4 separate regions of the Homo sapiens genome follow, and regions 2, 3 and 4 are each linked to region 1. Evidence: promoter capture Hi-C in human tissues and cell types (Jung and others, 2019). All regions are on one chromosome and are shown on one strand. Each heading gives the region's core, a stretch centred on a gene start or on the middle of the fragment in contact. The rest is flanking DNA. Distances are from core to core; before and after follow the strand shown.

Evidence for each region. The method cuts DNA at HindIII sites, captures the fragments that hold promoters and counts their contacts. A contact is called where the count stands out against the background at its distance.
Region 2: a contact is called between a fragment that was not itself captured here and the fragment with the promoter of PAPPA in region 1, in 1 of the 25 tissues and cell types used here (lymphoblastoid cells).
Region 3: a contact is called between a fragment that was not itself captured here and the fragment with the promoter of PAPPA in region 1, in 1 of the 25 tissues and cell types used here (mesendoderm cells).
Region 4: the fragment with the promoter of TRIM32 here is called in contact with the fragment with the promoter of PAPPA in region 1 in 1 of the 25 tissues and cell types used here (hippocampus).

Annotation. Positions count from the first base shown.
Region 1 is chr9:116,150,060-116,158,059 of GRCh38, forward strand. PAPPA (pappalysin 1) reads left to right here and starts at 3,732. Exons shown (of 22, transcript NM_002581.5): 1 at 3,732-4,528. The coding sequence starts at 4,114. RefSeq lists a silencer at 5,509-5,598 and enhancers at 6,459-6,960, 6,961-7,460. The HindIII fragment of the contact is 11,414 bases long and covers 369-8,000 here.
Region 2 is chr9:115,568,794-115,576,793 of GRCh38, forward strand. No RefSeq gene overlaps it. Among named protein-coding and RNA genes, the nearest start is that of LINC00474, 350 kb to the right of the region's middle. The HindIII fragment of the contact is 5,684 bases long and covers 926-6,609 here.
Region 3 is chr9:115,610,635-115,618,634 of GRCh38, forward strand. The region is part of intron 2 of LOC105376235 (a long non-coding RNA gene); the gene reads left to right. Among named protein-coding and RNA genes, the nearest start is that of LINC00474, 310 kb to the right of the region's middle. The HindIII fragment of the contact is 3,865 bases long and covers 726-4,590 here.
Region 4 is chr9:116,683,872-116,691,871 of GRCh38, forward strand. It overlaps TRIM32 (tripartite motif containing 32), which reads left to right and starts at 3,434. Exons shown (of 2, transcript NM_012210.4): 1 at 3,434-3,510. All of the region lies in intron 16 of ASTN2 (astrotactin 2), which reads right to left. RefSeq lists enhancers at 3,101-3,420, 3,861-3,910 and a silencer at 3,491-3,690. The HindIII fragment of the contact is 20,788 bases long and covers 1-8,000 here.

The sequences.
Region 1 (8,000 bases), core at 2,482-4,981:
GAAGATTCTCTGAGCAGGTGACAGAACTGGCCCTTGAAGATTCTTGCCTTTAAAGGTCTTCACCCTTCAAGGATTCTAATCTTGGAGGAAAGATATAAGCAGGACACTACACTAAGAACAATGGGAGATCCTATCTCAGTGAGTTCCAGATTCTGTGAGACAGACGATGCTTGCTTTAGGAATTCTAAGACGAGAATTATCCATCTGGCTTGACATAAGAAGTACATAGGGCTCTGGCTCCAGAGAAAAGCTGAGAAAAAAAGCTCAAAGGGCCATTAAAAATTAGATCTGTGGAAATGAAAAGAGGGTACTTATATATTGAGCACCTACTATGTCATGCAACACACTAATCTAATCCTCATGACAACTCCATGGTAAGGTCACAGAGACTCAGAGAAATTAAGCAACTTGCTGAGAGTCATAGGAACCCAGGTCAGGGTGACTCTGAGATGTACTTTTAACCACCCTCACCCACATTCAAATCAGTCTCAATCTTTAGGGCTCTACTTTGATGTTACTTTTCTAACTTCCAGTAGAATCTTATGTCCTTTCTGGAAAAACGCTTTTAGTAATTACCAAACAAAATGAACACTGAAGGAGTATATCATAAGAGCGAAGAAACAGAGTCAAAGTACCTTTTAGGAAAAAATCCTCAGGAACTTAAGGGAGTCCCTGGGGAGGAGGGCTGGAAGGAAGGAAACTAACTGAATATTGGATGACTAGATGGGAATTGTTGCCTTACTCCGATAATTAGAGGCTACATTATATTTCAAATCTGGAAGTGATCTTAAGAATATTTGATTCCAGTTTTTTCATTTTACATTAGAACAGAATGAGATCTAAAGATCCTACACAAAGCAGAATAAGATCCTGAGTCACCTGACATTGAAACGATTGCTCTTCTACTAAAAATGATTAAAAGAGAGGGAACACATCCATAAAAGATCAAGTATTGTAGTAAAAAAGGGATAGCAGTACATGATACATTTTATATATATATATATATATGTGTGTGTGTATATATATATATATATATATATATATATATATATGAAGGTCTTTTATATATACATATATATATGAATGTCAGTCATAGATCAAGGGTTAGGGTGGGTCATGAACCAAGAATTAAATTTCATCTAATTTTATGCACTCAATTAAAAACAAGCAAATACATACATACATATATGCATAAAGAGTTAGAATGGCTTCCAAGACAGATGGAAACAAATAGTAAATGTATGTTCAATGAATGGATGAGTGAAATGTCTTGCCAAATGATCCCAGTGCATTTGAGGACGGAGATCAAGGAGTTCAAGGACCCATAAGACATGAACTTCGTTGTCCCTTCGTTTTCCTGCCTCCTACAGGAGAGAAATAACTTGGCCTCCTCAATTCTTGTTTGTCTTTAAGAACCTGAGGAGCACTTTGTCTTTGACAACAACAATAGAACAAATGGTATTCGTATATCATTTTTATTGTTTACAAAAGATTATACCCCAGAGCATATCTTGTCCTCAAAATAAATTTGCCAAGTAGATATTCCCATTTTAAAGGTAAGGAAGTGGAAGGGAAGAGAAATGAAGTGTCTTACTCAAGGCCAGTGAACTGATATGTGTTGGAGGGAGTAGGAAATGAGAAGTAAAAATCTTGTGCTCCCACTGCTGGTCTGAGAATTGAATAATTCCCAGTTGTCTAGGAATATTCAAAATTATTGTATACAATGACTTAAAATCCCCCTGGAAGACATGCAGTTTCTAAATGCCTAATTGCCACAACTGAAGTAAATCAGTAGTCATGGTCCAACCTCTATTGGAGAGGAAGGGGGATTTTGAATGATACAATTTATGTTGTTCAACATAGCTCTCTTTTTATCCAATGGCAACCTTTTACAGATGACTTGGAGTTGCAAAAAGTCAAAGATTTGCTTAGGCAAATTCTTTATTCATGACATTGTGCACCCAAGATTTTCTTTCCTCCAGCCAGTCTCTGGAAACACATTTAGGGTATTGTGCTATTTTCATTTTATGACTACAGAAACAGAGTTCAAACGTTCTTAGTCTAAGACTATTCAGCAACTTCTTTCTAAACTAGGAAGGTATGAATCTGAGATCTCCCATTTTCAGAAAGCTTCCATAATCTTTGCATATATCGCATTCCAGCTTTCATAGAGGGGATGTCTGAGTCATTTGCTCATCCGACAAATCGTCATACTTTTGCCAACAAACATTCTTCCTTGGTTTTCTCTCTTCCTGAAGCGTGTAGCAATGTTCCTAGCTCTCAAGAAAGATCTGGAGCAGCTCGGAAGATAAGAGCAATTGAAGAAGAAAGTTACAATTTAGTGGAGTTAATTTTATCGCAGACTTTCAGCACGCTATTCACATGCAAACTTCACACAGAATATTTTTATCACTACCTTATTGGAATAGATTGGTAATTAATAGCTTGTAATCCACCATTGCTAACATGTTTTGACTTATTAAACACTTGGACAAAATAAAAGAAGATCTGTTTTGCCATAAGGGGGAGCTTTTGAGTTCTATAAAGAGGGGGAAAAAAGAAGAAAAAAATATATTACATGTATGTCCCAGTTCAAAAACAGACCTACAAAGCAGCAAATGGTCAGATCCTTACCTGTGACTTTAACAATTTCAGAGGACCTGAATTGCTTAAGTTGAAAACATTAGGCAAATTAATATTTTTCTCTCATTTTCTTCTTATAAAATTAAAATAATTTCTAATGACCAACAGAGTATTTTAAAGAGTATTCGGGGAAATTCAGAGACCCAGTTGTACTAGGACTACAGCTTCTGAAAGGCAGATGTCCTGGACAGTGCCTTTCTTCTATTTTCTTCTGATGATTCCATAAGAACTTTGGAAACATTTGGGTTAGCTGAAGCCAGCCTTATCTGGGGGCTCAGAAAAGAGGGGAATGGTTCATCATCGTACAACTTTAAGGAAATTCTGAGAGGGAAAAGGACAGGGAAAAGAAGAGGGAAAGAGGTAAAGGGAGAGGAAGCGGGAAGAAGAGTAAGGGAGAGAGTGAGAAAAAGAGAAAGAGAGGGAGAGGGAGGGAGGGAGAGACAGAGAGAGAGAATTAAAAAAAAAAATCTAAGAATCAAGTTTCAAGACTCTTTATGTGCTACAGAAAAGGATGAGGTTTACCAGCAAAGTGCAAAGGGGATCCTAAGAGAAGAGACAGATTTTTCTCCTGCCATCAGAAATAATAATAATAAGTGGGGGGAGTGAGGGAGGGAAAAAAAGCAAGCAAAACAAAACAAAAACAGGAATGTGTGTTTTGAGCAGGAATGAGAGCTGGGAGGACCGTAAGGGGGTGTGTACAGAATTTCATTAAATTGTTACTTTAAGATTGTCTCCTTAAAAAAAAAAAAAAAAAAAGAGAGAGAGAGAGAGAGAGAAAAGGAGGGGGTGGTGGAGAAGCGGGAGCGAAGGAAAGGAGGCAAAAGGCAAAGTGAAGGAAAGCTGGATAGCTCGGCCTCTCCAAACTGATTGATTAGTCATGATCCCCGCAGTTTTAACAGGGACTCATTCAATTGGGAAGGTGGAGCGCTGGGGAGCAGATTAGCATACGCTTGTTTACTCATCTTCTGAGGGATTTTTTCCCCCTCTTTCCTTTCATTTTGAGAAGAAGGAGGGAGGGGAGGGGGGACTTGGGGGGGGAGAAGGGGGCTGTGGCTTGTGTTATAAAGGACGCAAAAAATAAATAAATTAGAGCATCTTTTGGGGGGAGGGAATTCAGCGGATCAGTCTTAAGAGGAGCTTTTTTTTGGAGCGAGAAATCATATAAAATAAAATGAAATAAAACAAGGAGGAAGGCAACCAGCTGTTAGGGGAAAAATAAGGCAGATAAAGGAGCGGGGAGAGAAATTAATTGCCAACCAGGAGGAGTTGGGCTGTATTTTTCAAAGGTGGGGAGAGTGGAGCACACACCTTGAGGAGGAAAGCGAGAAAGAAAAGAAAAAAGCAAGTGGAAAGGGGGGCTCGCCCAAGAAGGGTGAAGAAGCGAAGAAAGTCGAGGCGCCGAGGCTCCCAAAGCTGGCAGCTCCGGGTGGCGGTGCAGGGGCGAAGGGGGGGCGGGGGGAACCGTCGGACATGCGGCTCTGGAGTTGGGTGCTGCACCTGGGGCTGCTGAGCGCCGCGCTGGGCTGCGGGCTGGCCGAGCGTCCCCGCCGGGCCCGGAGAGACCCGCGGGCCGGCCGACCCCCGCGCCCCGCCGCCGGCCCGGCCACCTGCGCCACCCGGGCGGCCCGCGGCCGCCGCGCCTCGCCGCCGCCGCCGCCGCCGCCGGGCGGTGCCTGGGAAGCCGTGCGCGTCCCCCGGCGGCGGCAGCAGCGGGAGGCGAGGGGCGCCACCGAGGAGCCGAGCCCGCCGAGCCGGGCGCTCTATTTCAGCGGGCGAGGCGAGCAGCTGCGCCTCCGGGCCGACCTCGAGCTGCCCCGGGACGCGTTCACGCTGCAAGTGTGGCTGCGAGCGGAGGGGGGCCAGAGGTCTCCGGCAGTGATCACAGGTAGGTGAGGGCGCCTCGGCGGGCGCTGCACCGTCCCTGCGGCCCCAGAGGCTCGCGGGTGTCTGGGCGCGGGTGGCGGGCGGGTCGGGGGCTTGCGGGCGTGTCTGTGCGAGAGCTGCCCCGCGAGCGGCGCAGAGACATCCGGGCGAGCTGAGAGCCTCACTTTGCTCCATCGGTGGAATGGGCACACTCGGAAGGCGTAGCTGCTCCATCCCTGGGAGGAACCTGGGGAGCCCTCCTGGCGGCCCCGCGGACCCTCGGCCAGTGAGGGCTGGTTCCCGGAGCCTAGGGCACGTAACCCGTGCTCCGAATGGTCAGATGCACTCTCTCCTTTTGGGATGAAAGGGAGGATGACCCAATTGAGATGCATGTGAAAGGAGACTTGGGGACCGTTGATTTCTTTGACGTTTTAATGGAGGTAACTCCCCTTCATTAGGCCCCATTCCCCTGAAAGCCGGCAAGGGCAAGGTTGTTGTAATGGCCAGGACTTAGAAGTCCTCGAAGTGCCCCAAAGTTGCTCACTGATTGAAGCCTGCCTCTGGGACTCACCCTCACCCCCTCCACGCCATCCCATGTCCTAGCTTTTAAAGCCCATTGCCTGTCACTCGGGGCTGGGACGAGACCTTCCTAACGCATACCCCGCCAGCGTTCCCCAGACGCGGCTGCGAAACGGGGCGCTTTTCTCATATGGGACTTTATGAGCCCGTAATGAATTTGAGTTCTCCCTCCTCAACCTCCCTCTCTCTCCCCTTCGCTGTTCCACAGCAAAGCCTATAGTGAAATCGGACACTTTGCGAGGATTGCAAACCTTAGAAATGCTCCAGCATCCATTTTCCCCCCTCTAAATGAATCTGTGGAAATGCCTTTAATAAAACTGGGGAGCGGAGGTGGGGGCGGCGCTGGAAGAGAGGAGGAAAGTTTTGCCTTTTCTGTCTGGGAGATTCCCTTTCTGCACAAACAATCTTGCCATGTCCTGGGACGTCTTAAAGTGAGAGTAGGGGTTCCCCCTTCACTGCAGCCAGGAAACGTGTGAAGGCGTTTTGCGATCCCACCCCCTCACACACACACTTTCTTAGAAGGGAAAGCTGTGAGCTCTCCGGGCAGTTCTGCTTCTTCCTGTCTTTCCATGGCTTGGACTTTCACAGATGTAGCACTGACTATCCAGTTGACATGAAGACCCCTTTAGGAGACCCACACTCTGCTGCTATCCCAAGAATACGTCTCCCGAAGCCCCCGCTTTCCAGCTATCAAAGGAGAGCGATACAGTGATTCCCCCCAACAACCCACAACTGACGTCATCGCATGCTATTTTTCCTTTTTTTTTTTCCTCCGGGAAGAAGAAGGAGACTGAACTCATTCACTTTTAACTCGCAAGCCCTATTTGCCCAGAGGAGGGTCTAATTTGGAACAGAGGAAACGTTATCCATAATAATAATGACGATGGTGATAATTTAGAGCTGTAGTATGTTGACTTCTCTTTCCAAACATGTGAAAAAGCAAAGAGACTGCTGCTTGGAGGTGATTTTTTTTTTTTTTTAATCTGTAGGTCTGGTTTTTCCTAGTCTTTACCTAGTACCAGTGATTTGGAAGGCATTCCCTGGAGAGAGGAGAGCACAGGGTTATGCAGGCATCATCAGTGAAAGGGTAGTGAATGCATTTTAACTATGTAAGTGTGTCTACATAAATACGTGTGTGTGTGTGTATATATATATATACATGTATATATATGTGTGTATATATATATGTGTATATATATATATGTATATATATATATATAACACCTGGGATTCCACAGGAGACTGCTTTATAAATGTCTATAATTCAGACAAGGAGCCTCTCTTCACACACATTCTCTTGAGCACTCATTCACTCTCTCACACAAAGATTGTTGCAGTAAAATACTTTAATTGGATGGGGGGCGTTAGGTTATTATTGCTTGTATAAAATGCCTGGTCCATTTTATGTGTAGAAATAACATTCCTCTCAAAACGAAAAAAATAAAATAAATAAATAAGCACTGCTGTCGTGTAGCACCAGAAAGCCAGGAGCTTTTCCCCTGAGGATTCTGGTGGATTTCTTTTCCCTCCCCTAGTTGAGTTGGAGCCAGATTTGGCGGCGTGTAAACACCTGGCTCTGAGCCAGAAAAGACTCATTCTGCATATCCTCCACATGGTACAGGCTGTTGGACTAAAAAGAACCTGCTTCTCCTTGAATTAAAAAGCAAACAAACAGAGGTTCTTTGCAGAAGTACTTTTTCAGCTCCCTCCTTCGTGTAAGTTTGGGCTGGGAGAGCCAGGACCGAGGTGGGCAGCAAGGATCGGGTGCGAAGGCTCACCCTCTCGCGGCGACCTCAGGTGCCCAGTTTGCTGCCTGACCTCTGCTGGCTTTCTCTGGCTGGGCGTTGCCACTTTCCTAGGAATCCCTGGTCACCTATCTTGAGAGAGCAGTCATCGCTCAGCAGGGACCGCGCTGCTATTTCAGGCAGAGAGTTGCTGTCTTGCTGTCAGGCCAGGCTGCCTTACATCACTCTTTGCTGCAGGATTCAATTGGGTTTCGTAAAGGTCTAATTTTACGGTGCTGTTAACCGGGTCTGTCGTCTGGCAGAGGCAGGCCTTGCCGCTCCTGGTAGGCGGGCTATGCTCCCAGATCCGCCCGGGATGCTATTTCTGCCCCGGTTCAAACTTCACTGACACCAGTTCAGACAGGCGCTCGGAGAGACAGGGGGAAGGAGCGAAGGAGCAGTTTGCTTCTGAAGCTCAGAAAACATGCCTTTTATTTTTCTGAAAGGAAAGGAGAAAAATATATATACTAATACATAAAAAAAGGGAAGGCTTATGCAGGCAAAAACAAAGCCAAAGTTAGAAAGTGCCTATGTGTAGGATTCTCTGGAGGGTCCACCAGTGGATGGTCTTTAGGATTGAAGAATCCTTTAAGGCTGCTGTGAAAAGGGTCCTCAGAGGTTACCCAAGCCAGTTTCCCTTTTGGCCGAATGGGGAGAGAGACACACAGAGAGGGGAGGGGTGTGTGCTGGATGACACAGCTCCTCAGCGGCAGGAACTAGGATTTAATCCCTGGCATCTGACTTCCAGGCCTTGCCCCCTGCACCGCTGAGAGAATGTGTCTCATAAACACCATCACCTCTCACCCCACACGGACCCACCACCCACACACAGCCTTCAGCCTTCATGCATAGCAATTTGGGCTCCCTTTCAAGTCAGGGGATGAGGGGTTGTTTCTGACACATCCCTTTGCTTTTGTACCACACCAGGCAGGAGGAACCAGACCCCTGTTCCTCATCCCCAACTGCCCCCCCAACACCCCTCCAGTTTGAAAGAAAAGGAAAACAAAAGACTCAATTTGCTCCATCGAGCAGAGGCCTTGAGCAGCAGTTAATCTTGTTAAAGTTTCTCCTGACCTGTTAGATAAGTGAAATGTGGACCCCACAAGTACTGCCCTCCTCCCACCCCTGTCC
Region 2 (8,000 bases), core at 2,518-5,017, 580 kb before region 1:
TTTTTATGGCTGAGTAAAATATATACATATATATATATCTTCCTATTTATGGCTGAATACTACTCACCATAAAACTGAATGAAATAACGTCTTTTGCAGTGATTTGGGTGGAGATGGAGGCCACTATTCTAAGTGAAGTAACTCATGAATGGAAAACCAAATACCATATGTTTTCACTTATAATTGGGAGCTAAGCTATGTGTACACAAAAGCATACAGAGTGATATAAAGGACTTTGGATACGCAGAAGAGGGAGGTTGGGAGGGGGTTGTGAGATAAAAGCTGCATATTGGATACAATGTACACTACTCAGGTGACGGGTGGACTAAAATCTCAAAATTCACCACTATATAATTCATCCATGTAACCAAAAACCACTGGTACACCAAAACCTATTGGAATATCTATCTATGTATCTATGTATCTATGCATCTATCTATGTATCTATCTATCTATCTATCTATCTATCTATCTATCTATCTATGTATCTATCTATCTATGTATCTATCTATCTATTTTCTGTATCTATCTATTTTCTGTATCTATCTATCTATCTATCTATCTATCTATCTATCTATCTATCTGGAAAGGTGAAAAGTGAGACAGAGCTTAAGTCATCAGACAAATAAGAAGAGGAATAATTTTAGACAAAGAGGATATTATGAAGATATATTTTGGAAGTAGAATTGAGTATGCACAGAAAGAACAGAGGTAGAGAAATCACTAAAAATGTTTAACAGCATACTTGAGCAAGAAGAAGGTTTAACCAGTGAACTTGAAGTCAGGTCATGCACAACTTTCCAGAGAAACAGAAGATAAAAAAAAGAACGAAACATAATAAAGAAAGCTTATGGGACTTAAGGGGCACTACCAACCTTATCAATAAATGCATGATCAGAGACACAGAAAGAGAAGAGAAAGAAAGAGGAACAAACAGTTATAAGAAATCATGGCTGAAAATTCAAATATGAAGGAAACTGACATCCAAATTCTGAAAGCCAAAGCTTCCCAAATAAGATAAATCTAAAGATGACAAAACCAAGATGCATTATAATTAAATTATCAAAAGTCAAAAAAAAAACTTTATTCCTTTTTTTTTTGGAGACAGAGTCTTACTCTGTCACCCAGGCTGGAATGTAGTGGGGTGATCTCAGATCACTGCAACCTCTGCCTCCTGAGCTCAAGCGATTCTCCTGCCTCAGACTCCTGAGTAGCTAGGACTACAGGTGCACACCACCATGCCTGGCTAATTTTTGTATTTTTGGTAGAGACAGGAGTCTCACCATATTTCCCAGACTGGTCTTGAACTCCTGAGCCTAGGTAATCCGTCCGCCTTGGCCTCCAAAAGTGCTGGGATTATAGGCATGAACCACTGAACCCAGATGAAAAATAATTTTAAAAGCAGTAAGTAGAAAGTGAGTTGTCACATGGAGAGAAATTCCATCAGAATATTACTGTATTTCTCAGCAGAAACCTTGCAGACCAGTAGGTAGTTGGATGATATACTGACAGTGTTGACAGAAAAACAAATACAAGAAATGCTAAATAAAGTACTTTAACCTGAAATGAAAGCACACTAAACATATGAAAGCCCATGAAAGCATAAACTTTGCTACTGAAGCTTAATATATAAGTGAATACAGAATATTCTAATACTATAATGGTGGGGTATAAATCACTTTTAATTCTGATGAATTTAAAAGACTAAAGTATAAGTATAACCGTCTAAAATATGTTAATGGATATCCAGTATAAAAACATAATTTTTTACGGGTGTGGTGGCTCATTTCTGGAATCCCAGCACTTTTGTAGGCCAAGGCAGGAAGATTGCTTGAGCCCAGGAGTTTGAGACCAAACTGGGAAACATAGTGAAACCTTGTCTGTACAAATAAAAAAAATTAGCAGGGCATAGTGGTGAACACTTGTGGTCCCGGCTACTCTGGAAGCTGAGATGGGAGGACTACTTGAACCTGGGAGATAGAGGCTGCAGTGAGGCGTGATTGCACTATTGCACTCAGCCTGGGGAACAGAGTGAGATACTGTCTCAACATAAATAAAATAAAATACAAAACATATAATTTGTGACATTAATAATATAAAGTGTGTGTAGAGAAGGAAAAGTGTAGAATGTTTGTATGTGATTGAAGTTATCATCTTAAAATAGATTGTTTTAAGTATAACATGTTTTATACTCAGCAGTAATCATAAAGAAAACGCTTATAGAAGATTCATAAAAGAAAATGAGAAAGAATTCGAAAGGTATCACTTTAAAAAATGAACCAGAAGAGAAGACATCAAGAGAGGAAAAGAGAGACAAGAGAGCTACAAACAGAAATAAAACAAGTAACACAATAACAAATATCCTTCCCTATCAATAATTAGAAAGAATCAGATCTGAGTAATATTAAGTGCCCTTTGCAATGCCTGCCACAGAATTCAGTAAACAGCAGTTTTCCACGCTTCCATGCCTAATTTTTCCCACTTTACATGTGCTAAGGAAAGGGAATGAATCTCACTCATTTTTTATTTGCAAGACTGGAAAAATGTCTAATCTCAAAAAAATATTTCTTGGATGAATAAAAGAGAAGCTCCAATTTATTAAAATCACTGCTCTTAGATAAGAACTAATTTTGGCCATAATTGTGGAAGGAAAGGGAATTAATTTAGCAGATTCATTTTCTGTGTTAAATCAGCTGCTGAACACTTTACCAATGTTTTGTCATTGAAGTCTTACAACAAATATATGAGATAAACATTAAAACATTTTTCTTAAGAGCACTCAGAAAATTTATAATTGCTCATTTTCACCTAAAATTTGTTTTTTATACTACCTGTGTTAATCTCATATTAGAATGTTTGATGGATATACTACCAGAACTCTAGTTCCATTTTGGAAAAATTATTTGAAATAAATGCCTTATTCACACAAAAAAATCATTAATCAATTGGACTTAAATTTGGATTAATAATTTTAATGTTATTAAAATTAAGCATTTTGTTTGTTAAAAGACAGTATTAAATGAGTGATAAGATCAACTACATGCTAGTATAATATATTTACAAACATCCAACCATAGACTTATGAACAGACTTTATAAGAGACTTCTACGAATCAATACAAAGGTAATACAACAACGGAAAAAAAAATACTTCATGAAAGAACAAAATATACATATGAAAAGTACACAAATTCACTATCAGAGAAATGCAAATAAAACCACAATAAGATACCTCTACACAACCAAGACGTTGGCAAAAAGAAAAGATCAGAACTTACCAAAGTTGGTGTGGGACAGGGTTTCTTAACTTTAGTACTCTTGAAATTTTTGGTTACATAATTATTGTGCGGAGCTGTCCTGTGCATTATAGGATGTTTAGTAGCATCTTTGACCTCTACTCACTAGATGCAACAGCAGCCCCTGCCCCCTCCCCCTGCCCAAGTAATGACAACAAAAAATGCTTCCAGATATTGCCAAATTCCCCTGGAAGCAGCAAGATTTTCCTCACTTCCTCTGACTGAGAACCATATGCACTGGTAGTGGAAGTGTAAATTGGCATCTACTTCAATATTATCTAACAAACCTCAATATGTGCATAACCTGTGATCCAAAACCTGGGTAGGTATTTTAGCCCAAAGATTAGTACAACAAGATTCACAGAAGCACTACTTCTAATAGCAACATACTGGAAACAATCTATAAGTTCATGAGTAGAGGAATGAATGAATCCATATGCATATAATGAGTATATACAGTAATGACATACACAGATCTCACAAACATGGTGTTTAGCAAAAGAGGCCAGGCTTATAAAGAATATAACATTTCAAAAATGGTCAAAACTAATGTATGGTATTAAAAGTGAGGATAGTGGTTATTCTTGGAGGGAGGAAGGTAATGACTAGGGGGGATGACAGGGAGGGTGCTTGGTTTTTCATCTGGTTTAACATTACAAGTATTTGTTCACTTAGTAAAAATTAATTGAGCCTTGCGCTATGTTTTATGTAATTGTTTGCATTTTGGTTATAATTAAAATTAGTACCAAAGGGGGAAAAATATTCAAGAACTAGAACTCCAGGCAGCCCTGGCTTGTCTACTTCTCTTTTCTTTCCAAGTCTAGGTTTAAGCAGGCTTTTTTTTTTCTTTTTTTTACAGCTCTATTGAGATATAATGGATATAAAAATCTACATATTTAGTCTACATTTTGATGAGTTTGGAAACATCTCTACACCATGATACCATCACCACAATAAAGCTACTAACCCTGTCCATCACCTCTGGAAATGTCCTTGTGTCCTTTGTGTGTATGTATGTATGTGTGTGTGTGTGTTTGTATGTTTGCGATAAGAACACTCAACATCGGATTTATCCTCTCCACCTAAAGTGCACAATACCTTACTGCTAACTCTAGGTTCTATGATATATAGCAGGTCTCTAGAAATTATTTATCTTGCGTAATTGAAAATTTATACCCGTTAAGTTACAATTCCCCATTTCTTCCTCTCTCCACCCACTGGCAACAACCATTCTATTCCCTACTTCTATGAATTTAACCATCTTAGGTATTTCACATAAGTATAATCATGCAGTATTTTTCCTTTGATGACTGTCCTATTTCACTTAGCATAATGTCCTCTAGATTCATCCATATTGTTGCAAATGGTAAGATTTCCTTCTTTTATTGAGACTAATAATACTGCATGAATGTAAATGCCACATTTTCTTCATCAAGCAGAGTTTTATTGTTCTGTCCCGCAATCACAAAAATGTTTTTCCCAAGGACTATAATTGCATCTGCATTTAGATACCACTGTTCTATTACTTGAAAGTTTCTGTCTACCTGAATATTTAAGGGCATGAGCCTTGACACCTGTCAGCTGGTAGAAAGAGGAAGTTGCAGTTGCATATATTATCTAAATGTCATTCATATCTGTATGTCTCCTACTTTTTATTGATTGGAATCAATTGAGGGCCAGGCATGGTGGCTCACACCTGTAATCCCAGCACTTTGGGAGGCCGAGGCAGGCTGATCATGAGGTCAGGAGATCAAGAGCATCCTGGCCAACATGGTGAAACCCCATCTCTACTAAAAATACAAAAATTAGCCAGGTGTGGTGGCATGCACCTGTAGTCCCAGCTACTTGGGAGGTTGAGGCAGGAGAATCGCTTGAACCCGGGAGGCAGAGGTTGCAGGTTGCAGGGAGTCAGGATTGTGCCACTGCACTCCAGCCTGGGCAACAGAACGAGGCTCCATCTCAAAAAAAAAAAAAATCAATCAATTAGAAAAAAGTATTTTTGAGAATACCATACATCCTGCAGCTGGACTCTGGGTATGTGGAAAGTTACAGGTCATATCAGGCCAGGGAATCTTTCTTTCCATCATTCATTTCCTCTTCTTCTGGGACAGTACTCCAAAAGTACTTTGAGAAGTCAACCTCCCTTTTCTTTCTGTCCATGTGATACACAGCTGGGGTATCACTATGTGTGATAGTCTCATGGCCAGGGCTAGCCATAAAAGCTTGCAAATAAGATAATTTGGTGGGCATTTTGCTGCTTGGAACTAGATTGTGATTTTGTTAGTTAAGAGACAGTGGGAATAAATTTGGGGATGGAAACTAATGATGTCTCTGAGGAAGTGTCTTCCATGTGAACAAAAGAATGCTTGCTTTAAAAGACATACGTATAAGCCAGAAAATAAGATATTGGAACTATACAGAAAAATACTGAGTGGCTATATTTGAATGAAAATATAAAGATGATTTTCCTCTTTCCTTTGTATGTACATTATTTGAAATAAATACACTTTCTCTATATATGTGTGTTTGTGCATTTGTGTATGTATTTTTCCACTATTTGGATAAAAAGAACATTTTAAGAAAATAAGTAAAAGCAAAATACAACTATCTATTATGTTGTAACTTATTTATTCTTATTTATCCTTATTCTTTTCTGTCCAGCAAAGATAATCGCCATCTATCCCATGCTTAAAAATTTTGTTGAACTGTACAAAAAAATATCAACCAGTGCACACTGGCAAGATCATAACAGAAAAAGAGCCCATTTGTAAAAATGACATTGACATTCAAGGTTAGGTCACAGATGAATGATTATTTTATCATTTTTGATTAGTTCTTTTATTAGGAACCAAATGCTGAAGATTAAGAAAAATCTCAGAGTAATGATTACATGTAATAACATAAGCCGAAAACAATATTATTATTTGCTTGATCTTATCAAAACTAATCTCTTTACAGCCTTGTTTGGTGAGATGGGTTGTTCACATATGACTCTTCCCACTTGAAAATGGCATAGAGGGCTGAATGGCTAATACAAAATCACCCCAGCAGATTCATGATGTGGTCAAGACTCATGGATTCTCAGCCTACAGATGGGCTGGAAGCAGAGTTTTTATTAGCATGTTCTCTTAATATATGATAGTAAATCACTTATTGTCTTCTCACTCTATTCCTGGTATGTTCTAAATGCTTAAAATATTGGTTTATTAAATAACCACATCGACTCATGGCTTAAATGATTATTTATTTATTTATTTATTTATTTATTTATTTATTTATTTATTTTTGAGACAATGTCTTGCTCTGTTACCCAGGCTGGAGTGCAGTGGCATGATCATTGCTCACTGCAGTCTTAACCTCCTGGACCCAGCTAACTTCAAAATTTTTGTAGAGAAGGGGTCTCCCTATGTGGCCCAAACTGATTTTGAACTCTTAGACTCAAGATTTCCTCCTGCCTTGGCCTCCCAAAGTGCTGGGTTTACAAAGTGTGAGCCACTGTGCCCAGCCTAAATTATTTTATTTCTATTTTATTGTGAGAAAGATGAAGCACAGAGAAGTTGAAGCATTTTCTCAAGGACTCATAGCTGATAGGTGGCAGAATTGAAATCCAAACCTAAACATTATGGCTCCAGAGCCAAGCCTCTCTGAAGCACACTTATTGACCCTTCAGAATGATCTCATCTTAAACTAGCACTCCTTAATATATATTTTGAGACACAAAGCCAACATAGTCAAAAAAGTGTCTCCTTTTTGTATACACTTGCTCTTCTGACGGTAGAACCTGACAGTCCTTCTGAGCCCAAGTCTTCGAACTTAAGTTTAACCTTGAGCTCAGAGAGTCAGCCCAAGTTATTCATTTTATTGGCAACTTATACAGTTGCACAAGTCATTTCTGCAAGCAGATCCTCCCAGTAAGTGGATAAATGTGTGCTAAAATCCAGCTTGGTCTCCACTCACCAAGACAAGCACTTGCTGGATACATTTCTCTTGAGAGTCATGCTATTTTCACATGGTCACAAAAGCTGTATGTGCTGTCTCTATGTTCTTATAGTCAATAATCATCAGCAAGCAAGTGCCTGTGTACTTCTGCAAGTCTTCCCACAGTCCTGAAAGAGCTTTCCAAACGAGGAAACAAGAAACTTAGATACTTTACCCAAAGCCACATTTCAAAATGAACGAGTCTGGATTTAAGTCAAACCAGTGTTTAAACAAACAAACAAACAACAACAACAACAACAACAACAACAAAAAACTCATACCAAGAAAAAAGAAAGAAAAAGCAAAAGCAGATATCTTACTTCCTATTGACTTAAGCAATTCTGTTAAATGCAGTGCTATGAATCTCTCCATCATCATCCAGTCCACCCAAAATATAAACAGCAACAACTAATGATCCTCCCATGAAAGCTTGAAATGTACTGCGGGACTGACAATGTGGTCAATAACCTGTAATCTTCAGAAAAAATAAAGCTAAAGTCAATCCCATTTAGTCAAACTCCAACCTCAACAGACACCTTGCTTCCATACATTAGTGAGTTCTTTCTCTGTCGCCCAGGCTGGAGTGCAGTGGCGCGATCTCAGCTCACTGCAAGCTCCGCTTCCCGGGTTCATGCTGCCTCAGCCTCCCCAGCAACTGAGACTACAGGCGCCCGCGACCACGCCCGGCTAATTTTTCTGTATTTTTAGTAGAGACGGGGTTTCACCG
Region 3 (8,000 bases), core at 1,408-3,907, 540 kb before region 1:
GAATCAATCAATCAATCAATCAACGTGTACAGTCCCAGCTCACGGCAGCACCATGAAGTAGATAAGAAAAAGAGTTTAGATTTAGATAGAACTGGATTTGATCCTTCCTCCACAGCTTACTGATTTTGAGATCTTAAATTTGTGAGTTAATTTCATGGGATCTGCTTCTCATTGGGTATTCAAACCCATCTCAGGATAAGAGAGAGTTCATTTCAATAATGTCTGCAGAAAAAACTGACAGGAAGGTGATATCCTATGCATTTGTTGGCAGGTAGAATTAGAGTATTAAGACATTGAATATTGTATGTCAACATGAATGCAACAAATGATTATAATCCCCTTTAAAATAATATTATGCAACAGAATATCCACAACAGGAAAAGTCTATTTATTATTATTATTATCATTATGGACATTTGACAAAAGAGGAAACTGAGACTCAGAGGTTAAGGAAGTTGCATATGGGAAGATCTAGGATTTGAACTCCATTTTGTCCGACACCTGAATCTGTGCACAAAAAAAGTAGATTGTAACCATGAACCCTTTCCTCTTCTGGGGAGAATTTCACTGTCTGATGTACCTGTAGTGCTCTGTTTGGGGACTGCTTTGAGTATGAAGCAGAGCTATCACTTTTAACGACTTAATCTACTCTAGTCTGAAATATACCAGATCCCTTCTAGAAGAGCAAAGGGAAACTAAAAATTCCCTAAAAATAGAAACCATTGTTTCTCAGAAGAAAAGTTCACTTTATAGACACACTGTAGGAATCGCTCTGGGGTTTGTTTTACTTTTTTTTCATTGCTTCTTTCTTTAAGGAAAATAGAGTCATAATTGCTAAGATTTATGCAGGAAAATTCACCCTAGAGATTTCAAACAAGTTTGCAGACTTTCTTAACCTCCTCAGCTACCCCCTTGGGGTACCTCTAAATTGCTGTCTCATTAAAGAAGAAGTGCCCTACCCAATCTTTGGGGGAGAATGCATTCAGCCATTTCTCAGATGTATTGTATATGTAAGAAACGGGCTGGAGTTGGGGAATCTTCAGGTATTAGATCATCTCATTTATTCCAACTCAGGGAGATTGTTCCCAGTTGGATATCTCAAGTGTTGTGAGTGGCGGCTAACCTGAAGAACGTCACATCTGTTATTTGAAGCCAGTCTTTGAGAAGCAAAAGCTACTGATGGAATGTTACTGCTTTTTTTTCTTTTTTAGATGATTTTCTGCAATTTCACTAAATGGTGGTAAGAAAAACATAGAGATCATAACTCTGGACACAGTATTAAGACTAAATTATGCTGATTTTATTATCTGATGCTAAAGTCAATGCAGACACTTTGTGCCCACTCTCTGTCCTTAGCTGTTGAGGGAGGGAGGAGTTGAAGAAGGAAGGAAAAGTGGAGAAATTTGAAAAGATGGAAGAGGATCCTTCCTCGTTTTTTTCTGACTTTGTAACCAGTGTTATCCCCATCCATCTCCTAACACAGCTCTCATTTTCTTCCCTGAACTTCTAGTATAACTGAGGATTTAATCTACTCAGACAGTGGTAGAATTGGTTGCATTTTCTCTTTTATTGTGTTTGCAGTGGGTGTACAACATGTCTTCATTAACTCTCCATGACATTCAGAATAGCTTGAGATAAAAAAAGCACTCAATCAAAAAGTAAAAAACAGTCTTCTGCCCTCCCATTTCCAATCACAAGCATCCCCTAGGGCATGTATTAATTACTGAAGATGAATGCTAGACCTTCATTCTCAGCAGGGTCCTTCAAATTTTATTGCTCTGTTGGGTCAGAAGATGGTGCTCCATCTTGCAAAATGGTAAGGAGTCTCAACTTCTTGAGGAAGTTCCAGCTAATAATGTCCTTTGTTACCGAGTGCCTACAATATGTCTAGCATTATTAGATTCTTTTTATGAATCAACCCACCTAATCCCAATATCTACCCTACAAGACACATTATTATCCCCATTTGCTGGATGGAGAAACTGATTCCAAACCCCTGACAATTTCAGTCCAGTAAATGGCTCTCTGTGGTTCAAAACTGAGGGGGGTCTGTAGTTCCTCAAAGTAGTCTGGTGTCAATGAAGACATTGCCACAGTATTTCCATTGTTGAAGCCTGTTGGGAATTGAGAAGATGGTTCTCAAATCCCAGTTCATGTATCAACACTCTGAGGAAGTTTTCTTGGCTGCAAACAAGATGAAACTGTTTTCTTTTTCATATTAAGTAGGGGTGGTGGGTGACTGTCCCAAAAGTAGGCAATTTTCAGGTGGAGTTAACCTGATTTTGCTTAACTGCTGTATTGCCAAAGTACCTTCCAGATAGCCCCATTTTCTCTCATTCTTGCTCTACCTCATCCGAGCAACTTCAGTGTCCCATAGATCAAGCTAAAGAGCTATTAAGAGCCCAGAAAGGCATCATTTATCACTATGTTTTCTTGGGAACACTAGTCTCAATTTTTTTATTGATTTGCTTGATTTTGGAATAACACATTTGAGAAACCCTATATGTCTCCCCTTCCCAAGTTTCATTTGTTATCTCAAGAAACATGTGCTTTTTGAAGATTTTGAGATGTTCTGCAGAAAAGCAAAACAAACACACAGAAGAGAAAACACAAACAAAAAACATGTTTACTTTCATTTCACTTCTAGCTCCTCTCCTCCCCTCTTTTGTTTTCTGCTCTGGAAACACCTGCTCATATCTCTTGGAACTATGGCTTTCCAGAGAACATCTTCAGAATTTCTCTGCCAAGGACTTTTCAAAGTTACCATCATAAATCCCAAATAAAATAAGGATTTTACTGATTCTCTAGATAGATGTACATTCTCCCTCTTTTGAAATCCTATGTCACTTTATTTTTACAGCTCTTTTGGCTTGTAGATTAAAGATGATAAATTAATGGAAAGAAACATGTAAAAACAGATTAAGATAATCACTATTTCCTATCTTATTCTTTTTTTGCTCTCGTTTTCTCTGATTACAAATAAATATATGTTCATTATATAAAATTCAACTACTATACAAATGTAGAATTCATATGACGCACCTTGGGTTATGCCAAGACTTAATTCTCCCACAACAGTGTAAGCTTCCATAATGGGCATCCTGACACCAGGAACATTGTAGATCTTTAGGAAAGGAGAGTAGAATATGGGAATGAATTCTACTTGTATTCACTCAATCATGAGCTTTGTACGAATACAGACCTAAATCCTACTCATTTTTGTCCCCCAACACCTTGCTTAGTGCCTAGTGCATAGTAGACTTCAATAAATCTATATATATATTTTTCTTTGAGGCAGGGTCTGACTCTGTTGTCCAGGTGGTGTGCAGTGGCTCGATTACTGCTCCCTGTAGCATCAACCTTCCAGGCTCAAGCCATCCTCCCCCGTCAGTCTCCTGAGTATCTGGGACTACAGGTGTGTGCCACCATGCCCCACTAATTTTTGTAATTTTTTTTTTTTTTTTTTTTTTTGAGACAGAGTCTCGCTCTGTAGCCCAGGCTGGAGTGCAATGGTGTGATCTCAGCTCACTGCAAGCTCTGCCTCCAGGGTTCACGCCATTCTCCTGCCTCAGCCTCCCGAGTAGCTGGGACTACAGGTGCCCGCCACCACGCCCGGCTAATTTTTTGTATGTTTAGTAGAGATGGGGTTTCACCATGTTAGCCAAAATGGTCTCCATCTCCTGACCTCGTGATCCACCCACCTCGGCCTCCCAAAGCACTGGGATTACAGGCGTGAACCACTGCACCCGGCCATAACTTTTTTTTTTTTTTTTAAATAGAGACAGGATTTCGTTTGGCCAGATTGCTTTCAAATTCCTGGGCTCAAGCAATTCACACACCTCAGGCTCCCAAATTGCTGGAATTACAGGCATCAACCACCATGCTGGCCATTTGCTACAATCATTTGCACTTGAGTATTGCTCCTGGGCAGCCCTTGAGGAAGGTCTCTACACTTAGAACCAGACACATCTATGTTTGTGTTCCCATTCTGTAACTGAGAACCCCAGTATCTGCATCTATTGAATGGGGTTAATGCTACAGCTTTAAGAATTGCTATATAGCAACTCAAAGCTGTAGTATTAACCCCATTCTATATATATATATTCTTTGTAAGTGCTGGAGGGCTACTCAAGTTTGCTATTTTTATGATTATGAAGAATGTGATCTATTCCTGACATGAGTTATTTATTTAAGTAAACAAGCATTAACTAAGCATTTCCTCTATGCCAGGGAGATAAAGAGATAATGATAAACTGATATGGTAAGTGGTGACTGTCATGACTGGGATAGGTAGAGGATGCTTTTGGATTACAGAGGAGAAATGATTCCCAGTGGCATTGGTGCCTCAGGTGAAAGAATTGAAGGTCTGTGTTTGGATGAAGGACCTTCCAGGCAGAGGTAATAGTTAAAGCAAGACATAGAGATGAGTAATAAATACATGTGGAGGAAAGTACCCAGTCCCAGTGGGAATGTCAGACACGCAGCCCTGTGATCAACTAACCACTGCCTACATTATGTGATATTGTATACAGCCTTGGAAAAGAAGAAGCCAAGGATACTTTATCATGTATGTTGCCTCCTGTTCATTATGTGATAGAGCATGGCCCCCTCCTGCTAACCCCATGAGGATTACAAGAGCTTAGAGAAGTCAGCTGACCAGCATTACATAGATAGTAGAGGTCAAGGCTAGGATTGCAACTACGACCTAGACCAGATGGTCCTGTCCATCACGTTTTCTGCCTTAACACATGTCTCCTCATCTACCCTGAATTGAAGAGAGAAAGGGATGAGAATGCTTTTTCCTGCCATAAGTCTTCCTTTTGTAGTAGACTAGTGAAGGACACTCAGTCTGAGCTGGGTTTTTGCTCCAAATGTCTAAGTTAAGTTGACTGTGGCTGCTGTAGAAGTGGGGTCCCATGAAACCTGGCTTGCTGATTGTAATTAATCACAAGGCAGAAAAGGAGCCCAAGCTGTTAGAACACCCAAGAGGCTGTGGATTAGGAGTTCCAACAATTCACATTTGCAACTCAGTGTCTCCGAAAGAGACTGGAGCTTTGGAAACTCCAGAGCTCAGCAAAGATTCTGAGGCTTGGGAGCCTTGTCCTTTTGGATACCTTACCCCAAAGAGCTCTCCAAGCCCCTGACATTTGGGGGATTGTCAGAGCTCTGGGCCGCCAGAGAAAGGCCCTGTCTCAGAAGCCAAAGTCATCAACAGAAAAGGAATTGAATGAGCAGGTTTTGCAGAGGCTGGAAGAGAAACTGTTTCAAAAATCTGTTGTGACTTTTGCAGACACTGCCTTTCCCTCTGGCCCCATAATTGAATGAGGCTGGTGATGCTTATTCACCTCTTAGTCTATGGCTGAGTCACCTCCTTCTCATCAGAATGTTATGAGTATGCAGAAGAAAGTAAGCAACCTCACAAAATGTTAGAGTGATAGTGGTGTTGGGGGTTATGGTTATTACCCCCAGGCAAATTCCAGAAGAGTCTCGCACCTAGCTACTGAGACAAAAAACAATAGTACATATGAATCTGACCTAGATGACTTAGGCTTTCTTTTGGTGGGAGAGTGAGGGGAATCTATCTGTACAGAAAATAAGACAGCAATGTCTCAGTCATTAGGCTCCCTTTTTTAAGCAAATAAAATATCTATGAAAGTACCTAGCAAATTCTTGGCAAGTACCAGTTGCTCCATATCTTCATATTTGTTTTTGTTTTCATTTTTGTAATCTCTTCTACTCTCTATCCAGTTTCTTTCCTCTGATTATATTTGCAAACCCTAAGTTCTAAAGAGCTACTCTGAGCCAAGGGTCATGTACAAGAATAGTGCTATTGGTACAGATGCAATGAATCTAATCAAATTATTGTTGTAAAGACGTTTCCCATTTCCTTAAGAATAAAACTGAGGCTGAAGGGTGAAATAATATTGCCTAAAGCTACTCGGTAAGAAAGCTGTAGAACTGGAATCCAGATCTGTGAATTTGGCCGTTTGTTGCTCTGTCAGCTGTTCTAACAACTCTGCAGATACCCAAGGTTACAAAGCCAGTAAAATGAATTGCATTTACTCTGGATTCAGAAGTAGTTAGTATCTCAATAAGCTTTTGAGGAGCCTGGAAATTTGACTGCATTTTCAAGGAAACCAATAATATGTTTTCATTTCACCAATTTCTGCAGCACCAATGCTGAATGGCCATTCATTTCCATTACATTCATATTCTCCTCCTTCAAGGAAGGAAGGAAGGAAGGGAGGAAGGAAGGAAGGGAGGGAGGAAGGAAGGAAGGAAGGAAGGAAGGAAGGAAGGAAGGAAGGAAGGAAGGAAGGAAAGAAGAAAGGGAGAGAGGGGGCAGCAGGATGACTCCATGCATGTGTTCAGGCCATGGTGGGGTAGAAGGACTGGCTTAAATTTATCGGTTGCTGGCTCAAGCTCCTAGTACCTGCCTATGAAGCGTGTTGCTGTAAAATTGTAAACAGGAGTAAAATTAGATCTCTACATAAGACCTCTCATCAAGGATGGATAGCAGTGCTGTGCATTTGATCCTACTGAGAGGCCCATTAGGCTCTGAAGAAGAAATTACTCCCTGTCTTAGTGTTAGTTGAAATACATCTAAAGATTAGTTGAAATACATCTAAAGATTGGTTGTGCAGATCCTGCAGAAGTAAATACTGGGCATTTGGAGGCTATAACACATATCAAGAAAGAACATTGAGGTTATAAGGAAAATCTTACTACTAATTTAGCCCAATCTCTTCCTTTTACAAAGGAGAAAATAAAAGGACAGAGCAGGAAAGTGACATGCTCCAAGGTTATACAGTGAGTTATCAACAAAACAAGGGTGGATATCCCAGTTTCTATAGTTAAATTTTATGGGCTATGTGAGCCTTTAGGGGCACCAAGTATCAGTGTGGTTCATTATAGAAGCTCTGTGGACTGGACAGGAGCTGGCCCTTTCTTTTCCATTTATTTTCCATGTTGACATATAATCTAGAAGGACTTTTGTGGTCAACGCTCATTTCTGTGGATAATATTCATTTTCAGTGCCCTCTCTGCCTCTCTTACAGGGTCTGTCCCTTCACCCTGTCCTTCCATAACAATGATTGTAGCTTCCTCTTTTATTTCGTTGGATTTTTTTTTTTTCCACAGAGCTGCACTGGTTGGGTCACTGAAAAGTCTCATTCATTCAAAACCGGAAGCCTAGCCAGGCACAGTGGCTCACACCCATAATCCCAGCACTTTGGGAGGCCAAGGCAAGAGGATCGGTTGAGCTCAGGAGTTCAAGACCAGCCTGGGCAACATAGCAAGACCCCATCTGTATTTTTTTTTTTTTGAGACAGAATCTTGCTCTGTCTCCCAGGCTGGAGCGCAGTGGCATGATCTTGGCTCACTGCAACCTACGTCTCCTAGGTTCAAGAAATTCTCCTGCCTCAGCCTCCTAAATACCTAGGATTACAGGTGTGTGCTGCCACGCCTGGCTAATTTTTGTATTTTTAGTAGAGATGGAGTTTCACCATGTCGGCCAGGCTGGTCCTGATCTATTTTTTTTTTTTTTTTTTGAAAATTCAGAAACCTAAGACCGTGCTTAGATACTAATACTCTCTTGGCACATCCACTTCAAAAGATGAGGGGAGAGGAAAGTAAGATGGGGAAACAGAGAAAGCAGATACAAGACAGTCCACTACTGCTCTATCCCCAACTTCACAGAACATCCAGCTGATGGCTAGCTTATGGAGGATGGCTCTGAAGAGTTTACATAGAATCCATGTATATCACAACAGTTATTCAGGGTTGGGAGAGGGGAAAAGAAAGCAATTTATCACTTACTCTTTCTCTTCTATTTTAACTCATTGGTCATAATGTTCTCCCAAGTAAGCTGACTCTTCAACATTTTTGGTTTGTGTCATGTAACATCTCTAGAGTCTGCTCTAACAGTAGAGCATCTATGGATTGATGGTGTTCAGCTGGGCAGTGGAGATGCTGGAACCCACATCACAGTGGGGGTGTGT
Region 4 (8,000 bases), core at 2,184-4,683, 530 kb after region 1:
TATTTTACCAAGGCTTTTACTGGAATGGCATGCTTCCTTCAAAGAATCAAAATTAATGTATAGAGCCAATTAAAGCCCCCTGGGGAATCTAACCTCAGACCTTGTCTATAGTCCCTGTACAAGGTTCTGTCATACAGTCCCTGTACAAGGTTCCTGACCTGTGGTAAGTAAAGAATGTCACTTTCTAACAGGCCCAGGAACCCCAAGTTATTTTGGGACCTTGAGAAGAGAGGAATTTACCCAACTCATAGGTATTTGAGGATACAAACCCATGGCTGAGCTTGGCTTTTAAAAACTCTTATCTGAGATTCCTCATGGAACAGAGTTCCATCAAAGCTAATTTAAACAAAAAAGACCCTAAGTGAAAAATAATTATTCTTGCTGCACTTTATGCAAATAATCAGGCCAAGTATAGTAAGACTAAAGTACATTTCTGTAAACAAATCAGTTCTATCATGATTTGTTTTTAATAAAAATGGGGTCTGGAGAGAGAGAAATTATGCTTCAAGAGGAAACCTATTGTTAGCTGTTGTTAGCTGTCCTTGAGTTTTTTCTACAATTTTGACTAAATCCTAAATTATTTGTGGGTTGGAAGTCGCCAGACTAATGCTTTCAAATCTTTGCTTTTAAAATTGAGTATTGTACTCCTCATCCTAGGACTCATTATTTACCTTATAGTAGGCTGTTCACCTAAATACTGTACTAAAACTATAGATGAGAGTACTAATGTTTTTGCCATGCAAGCCTTAGAAGCCCAGCCAGACCTGCATGAGTCGCTCAGACACTTGAAAGTGGTCCCACTCTTCTCACCTTGGGGTTGACTCCCATTCCCACTACGTCCCCTGTCAGCAAGAAGAACCCAGAGCAATCGACAGCCTTTTCCCATCTTCATACCCTACACTTTAAGATTAAGGTGTTACAAAACCCAAAGTGATGGACTGAAACTGCCTTTGCAAAATTATGATTGAGACAGTAAAAGAGATCTAACTTAACTGACTCCATCTTGCTTCTAACTTCCAAGCTGTCCTTGTTCATTCCTGGGCATAGGCTGAACTAACTTTGGGAGAAATTTAGTCTGTAGTTCATAGTTTAAACAAAGACAGTAACAACCCTATCCCAAAGCAGACCTCCTTGCCTGGGTACTAGATTGCCTTTGTAGGACTAACATTAGCCACAAGATTAGAAATTGCGGTTTAGGAGTCATGCAGCTGGAGGTTACAAGATGCTGAGCCTCCCTAAAATGCTTCTGAGATCAGTGCTTGAGATATTTTGCAGACCCTGCACTTGATGGATCAGCTGGCACCACCCAGATCAATAAACTCACTCATCTGATCTTGTGGCCCCCCCACTCAGGAACTGACTCACTGCAAGGAGACAGCTTCGACTCCCTATGATTTCATCCCTGACCAACAGCGCTCCTGGCTCACTGGCTTCCCCCAACCCACCAAGTTATCCTTAAAATCTCTGTTCCCCAAATGCTCAGGGAGATGACTTGAGTAATCATAAAACTCCAGTCTCCCGCACAGCTGACTCTGCGTGAATTACTCTTTAACTATTGCAATTCCCCTGTCTTGATGAATCAGCTCTGTCTAGGCAGTGGGCAAGGTAAACTCCTCAGGTGGTTCCACTGATATAGGTGATTTAAGTGTTAAATAAAAATCTGTTACATTAAAATGCTGAATAAAGAGTGTTTAAAGCACTCCACAAAGATTATTTTTTAAATGCCTCTGTGTAAGAGGAATTCTAATATTGTGCCAGGATATGTCAAGCTATAAGATAAAAATTGAGTGCATTTCCTAGAATGCTTATTCTACTCTAAGATTTTGTGAGAGGTATAATAATTCATTTAACTGGTAATAAACATTAAAGAAGAGTCAAACACTGATTTTTGTTTTAAGGGAGAAGAGAGATTTTTTTTTTTCAAGACACTTGCTTGAGCTAGATCCCCAGGAGTATTTTTAACACTCCTCTGTAATTAGGGAAACATCAGTATGTCTGTATTGATACATATACACACATATATAATATGTATATATGTAAGACTATGAACAGTCCTAAATTTATACTTTGGGCTGATAACTGTGGTTTTCAGGAAAAAAAAAAATTTTAAACGGGTGCAAAGTCTCCCCAACTGGTCTAAGTGAGAAATCATTTGGCATTACCTCTCCCTTATCCCCTACCTGCTAATTACAATTTTTCAAATATAGTTATCATTAAGTGCAAACTACCATAATCTTGGCTTATCTTCATGGCAAACTTCAATTAGAAATTTAGAAAATGGGGAGAAAGAGTAAACAAGGTTAAGAGAGTGGGTTCTCAGATAGAATTGGGTACAAATTTGGGCTCCAACACTTAGGTATATGTGGCCTTGTGTAACCACCTAGGTTACACAACAGGTGTAGGTTAACCATCAGCTGCCTTATCTCATTAGGTCCTTATGAGGATTTAGTGAGCTATGCACCTGAAGTCCTCAGCTGTAGCCAGACAGCAAGTGTTCAAAGATGTTAGTCATTGTTTTTGTTTATTGTTTTATCATTGTGCAGGGTCACATAGCTAAGGGGAATTTCAAATCCAAGTCCATCCTACTTCAAACTCCTTTGTGCTCCTAAGCTGTACAGTATAGTCACCTTGGAGAGTAGGTGATTGGCCCCAAACTACTTCAGGGACTGCAGGTCGTGGCCAGCCAGTCCTGTATCAGACCTCGTCCTTGCCAGATGCCTAGTGCCCCAGATTCCCTCAAATCTCAGGCCAGATCACCTCCCACCTGGTAAGATTCCTCCACCTTCACCCGAGCAAAACTACACTTGGTTTGGGTTCCCGGGTACCTTCAGTCTGCAGGGACAGGGGCTGCAGAGTGTACTCCCCAAGTCTGCCTCTGCTGTCGGCCTCCCAGCTGAGTAGGCAAAACATTCCTTTACAGAGCAATGTGTTCATGGATAAACTTGTCTCTAGTGCAGCTCTCTGTCAGAGCACAGAACATGAGGCCAAAGCACTGCCCTTCCTAGGGAGTCCCGGTTCTCGACTTCCCCAGAATGGAAGTTTGATTTTTCCGTTGGCCCATTTCTCAGATGGAAAAACAGATTCAGTAAGGTGCCAACGCTTTGCTGAGGACTACCCTGGAGGCTACCGTTTTGTGAAGGGGTAGACATTGAGACTGGAGTCAGATACGCATTCTGGCTTATCTCCTGACTTACTGAGTGAACTTGAGCAGGTCCCTTTCGCCCATGGGCGTCGGTTTCTTCATCTGCACCAAGGAGACGGAAAACTGGATTACGTGTCGCTAAGGCCCCGGGTTCTCAGAGGAAAGCTCACCCCTGCAGGGCCGCCTTGCCCCGCGCGCTTGGGGCCAGCTGCACGACAAGCCCCAGCATGCTGGGGAGGCGGGGCTCAGTGACGGACAGGGAGCTCTGCGAATTGGCGCCCGGCAAGGGGTGCTCAACGGCGCGTGCGCAGAGGGAGGCAGGCGGGTGGGCTGCCGGCGGTGGACTCGTCGGAGCCGCGGGCGGTCAGGTAGGGGGCGGGAAGGAGGGTTGGGGACTGGGGACCGCGGCCGGAGTCGTGGGCCGTGGCTCAGCGGCCAGGCGGGGGAACGTGCCGGCGTGCAGCGGCCGCGCCCGAATGGCAGGGTGTGGGGACCGGATCTGGGGGGGGCAGGACTAGGGTGGGGGTGGGGCTGCGAGGGGCAGGCTCGGGAGGGATTCGTGGGGCTGAGGAGATCCGAGGAGATGCAGCTGGGGGAGGGGAGCGAGGGGCTCTGAAGAGATTTGCGGTTGCAGCATCTCGGGAGGTATGAGGTAATGTCGGGGCCCTGAGGAGGAACGGGGTGTAGCATGTGGGAGATGGGAGGGAATCAGGGCCCTGGAGGGACCTGGGTGCAGAATTTCAGAAATATGAAGGAACTGGGGGGCCCCGATGAGATTTGAGGAAATCTGGGGGCGCTAGGCATCTGGCAAGGACAGGGTCTGAGATGATAGGAGCAAGGTCTAGGGCGATCCTAAGTGCTATTGAGAAAGGGTTTTCGGAGTGGGCTGAGGGTGAGATTGAGGGGGTGGGGTGAGTTCTTGAGGGACTCTATCTTGTTAGCAGAAAGAAGGGAGCTGGCTGAGGTGTGAAGGCAGCACATGACATTCAGTGCATAAGAGGAAGGAGCAGGGTATGAGGGCAGCACAGTGCCCGATGGAATGCAGGAGATGGGGGCTCAGATTGAGGGAGAGCAGAAATCTGGGGTGAGGAATTGGGGCGTTGAACTGAGGTGCGGGGCTGAGTGTGGCAGAGATTTGGAAATAGGGATTAAACGATCTGAGTCCGAGGGATTTGGGGCATATGAGTGAGGAATTGACGAGGGTTGCAATATACAGCCCCAAAGATTGGAATTTGGAATTGTAAGAGGGTTGGGGACAGGGTTTGGAGAGGATTGAATCGTGGGGTGGAGATGTCCTAACTGGGCTATAAAATCAAAGGACCCTGAGTAGATTTGTGGATTGGTGTCTTGGGCTGCTAAAGAGATTTTCCTTAAATCGCTGCATGGGAGACAGAGGGAGTTCAGGGGACCCAAGGACCTAAAAGTAATGTATGAAACTGGATGAGTATATGAAGATGAGCAGAGTTCAGGTGCTGAGGAACAAAGTGATAAATCTTCAGTTCAGATAATCCTGAAGGAGTGTGGTAATCCCTGTGAAGGGCAGAATCTTCTTCATTTATTAAACAAAGATCCGTTATCATGAGGCAGGTATGGTATTGCCACTAACTCCATTCTGACCACCGGTCCCCCGGCCCACTGAAAGTGGTAGGCTTTGGGGAAGAAGAAGTGGAACTATTCAAGGTCATCTGCCTAAGCCCTTTTTCCCTGTACCCCCAAGCTACGATAGCAGATAGAAAGTGAGACCTCCAGGGGAATGAGTGGAATAATTTATCCTATATAAGATCCATTACAGCTTGAAGGGGCAGTGGCTCTGTGAGTGAGGTGTTTGGGCTCGGAGACAGACAAAACAACAACAACAACCACCAGAAAAAAAAAAGGGAACCCTTAGGTATTGAGCATTTAGTCCTGTGCTAGACTGTAAAGCAGTGGTTCTTAACCAAGTCTGGCTTTGTCTCCTAGGAGACATTAGGCAATGTCTGGAGATGTTTTTTGGTTGTCACAGGGTGGGGGATACTACTGGCCTCAAGTGGGTAGATTAAACATTAAACATAATGTTTTATGTTAAACATTTGACAATGTGTGGGATACGCCCTTCCCCCCCGCAGTAAGGAATTATCCTGCCTAAAATGTCAGTAATGCCAAAGTTGAGGCACTCTGACCTAGAGTCAGATACCCTGGGTTCAAGTCCTAGCTCTATCTCTTCCTGACTTTAAGTCCTAGCTCTATCTCTTCCTGACTTTGTGGCCTTGAATGAGTTACTTAACCACCCAGTGCCTTGGCTCTTCATCTGTAAAATGGGGTTATGATAACAAGACCAATGTCACAGAATTGTTGTGAGGATTTAGTGAAGTAAACTAGCATGCCTAGGATCTGGCACATAGTAAGTTCTCAAAATCTAGTAATTTTTAGTCTTGTATCTACTTCTTTACTCAGTTTTCATGACAGTCCTTCTAAGTAGGCTCTACTGTATTCAGTTTTACACATGAGGAAACTAAGGCTTAGGAAGTGACTTGCCTAAGTTTCCATAGCTAGGAATGACACAGTTAAGCTCATACCCAGATCTCTGTAACTCCGTATATTCCCGCTTTCCTTGCTTCTTCCTTGCTAGGGCCTGCTTAGTCTTATTTTCTCAGCCCATTCCCCTCTAATGAAAAAGAGGATTGCCAGTGAGTATCACTGACTATCAGATTGAACTCTAAAGTTGGGGGGTAAATCTCTCTGATTAGGTAGGGAGGAGCCCTGGACTTTGTTCTTGGTTTGCCCTTAGACCAAGACCTGGGGCTAGATAAGGAGAGGAGCCTGAGGTTATCAGGCAGGATGAGGTGCAACGGACTATAGGGTGAGGTATGGAGGCCATTGGCTTGAAAAAACACCTCATAGCAGGGACTGAGGCTGAAGGCAGTCATACTCTGAAGGAGAGTAACTACTGTTCTGTATGGTCTCTTTTGGTCTGCTTTTCCCTGGAACAGAATTTGGCTCTATCATTTCCAGGACTAGCTACAGGGTTGCTGAAGCCAGTTCAGAAACAAAGCTAGACTGTGTCTGACAGCAAGACTTAGCTGGAATATCTGTGCACATCCCTAAAAGAAAATATGTCATGGGAATTAAATCAGCCCTGTCTAAACTCCTTACTCTAATTTCCTATGTTACCTTGTCAGTAGCTACGGCACTTGTCCTGTCAGCCTCAATCTATTAAAAATGCAAATGATTATAATTTGTTGAGTGCTTATTATGTGCATTATCTTAGTGAATTCAATCCTGCTAACAGTCTAGGTTTTATTCCTTGTTTACAGATAAGAAAAATAACAGGTTAAATGACTTACCCAGGGCTACAGAGCAAGTAGCTAGGTTGGGATACAAACCCAGTTCTGTCTTACACCTATGTTACATTATAGTAGTTTTATTAGAAGCCTTTTCCAACCCTTCAGAGCCCCTATGTTTATGTCTGGAGAATAGTTGGAAGCCAGAAGTTTATAAGGCCCTTAAAGTAGATCATTGTCTATGCACACTGATGTGTAACCTTTGTGACATTCCCTCCATCTTGTCTTTCTGGTAAAACAATCAAATTTAAAAATCATTTCTAGGTGCCCTTACCAACCTCTCAGCCAGACTTTGTCTAAAGCTAGGGAACTATGAAACATCCTTTAAGTTAGTAATTTTATGGCTGGGAGTTGATACTGGGATTTGAATCCTTGCTCTATTACTTATTGGTTTTGAGACCTTGGACAGGCTACTTTCTCTGAGCATTGGTTTCCTTATTTTTGAAGAGGAATCACACTTACTTTACATGGTTATTATGAGACTATGAGAACATATAAAAAAATGCCTGACAATAAATAGTAGTTGCTTTAAGAGTGTTAGCAATTATGAGAGGAAGGCAGTGCTGGAAGAGAACTAAGTGTTGCTTTGTCATATTTATTTATTTATACAGGGTCTTGCTGTGTCACCCAGGCTGGAGTGCAGTGGTGCAATCACAGTTCACTGCAGCCTCAACCTCCTAGGCTCAAGTGATCCTCCCATCTCAGCCTCCCAAGTAGCTGGGACCACAAGTGCATGCCACCACACCTGATTATCTTTTAAATTTATTGTAGAGATGGTGTTTCACTCTGTTGCTCAGGCTCTTTGCCAGATTTTGATAACCCTAAGTAGTCTCTGCTAGTCTCCCCAAAATTCTCATCCCATTTTGTATATTTCCTAGGATCTCCTTGATCCTTTAATCATAATCTCATGATTAAATGAACAGATGTTATATGCAGAGAAAGGAATTGAAAGAGAGAGAGGGTTGAGGTTAGTTGGAGGTCCCTGAGAAGGGGCTATTGATTTTTCCTTTGTCTTATATTCCTTGAGTCATACTGGCAGCGTAGGTACTACTCAAATGTTTGTGAAAGATGCAAGGGAGTCTTTCTAGGTCCTGCAGTTTTAGAGGAAGACAGAGACAACAGGCAAGCATGTTTTCCAGGAAACCCTATTATTCATTTAGCCTGCCCTTGACATAGTTTAGCTATGTTTAACTTAGTAATTTAGCTAAAGTTTTCTTTCTCTACAAACATACTTCCTTCTGGATCGTTTTGTTTGCCCCAGACTGGTACAACTTCAGGAGCATGCCTGTGTTTCCCTATAAGCCCCTACTTGTTGAGTTTATCTTAGTTGTCTGCAGGTGCCTTAAATGCCCTGAGTAATCTAAACTTCATCAGAATCCTCTCCCACACACAGGAGTGGATGTCAGGTGATGACCTCACTGAATTCGTTAAAGTCAGTCCTGCTAACGAGTGGCCTTTGGTGGCACAGTGATAGTTTTGCACTTGATTAGCATTCTGTTAGAATGCATGAGGAATAAAGTTTAGAAAGCTGACATAAA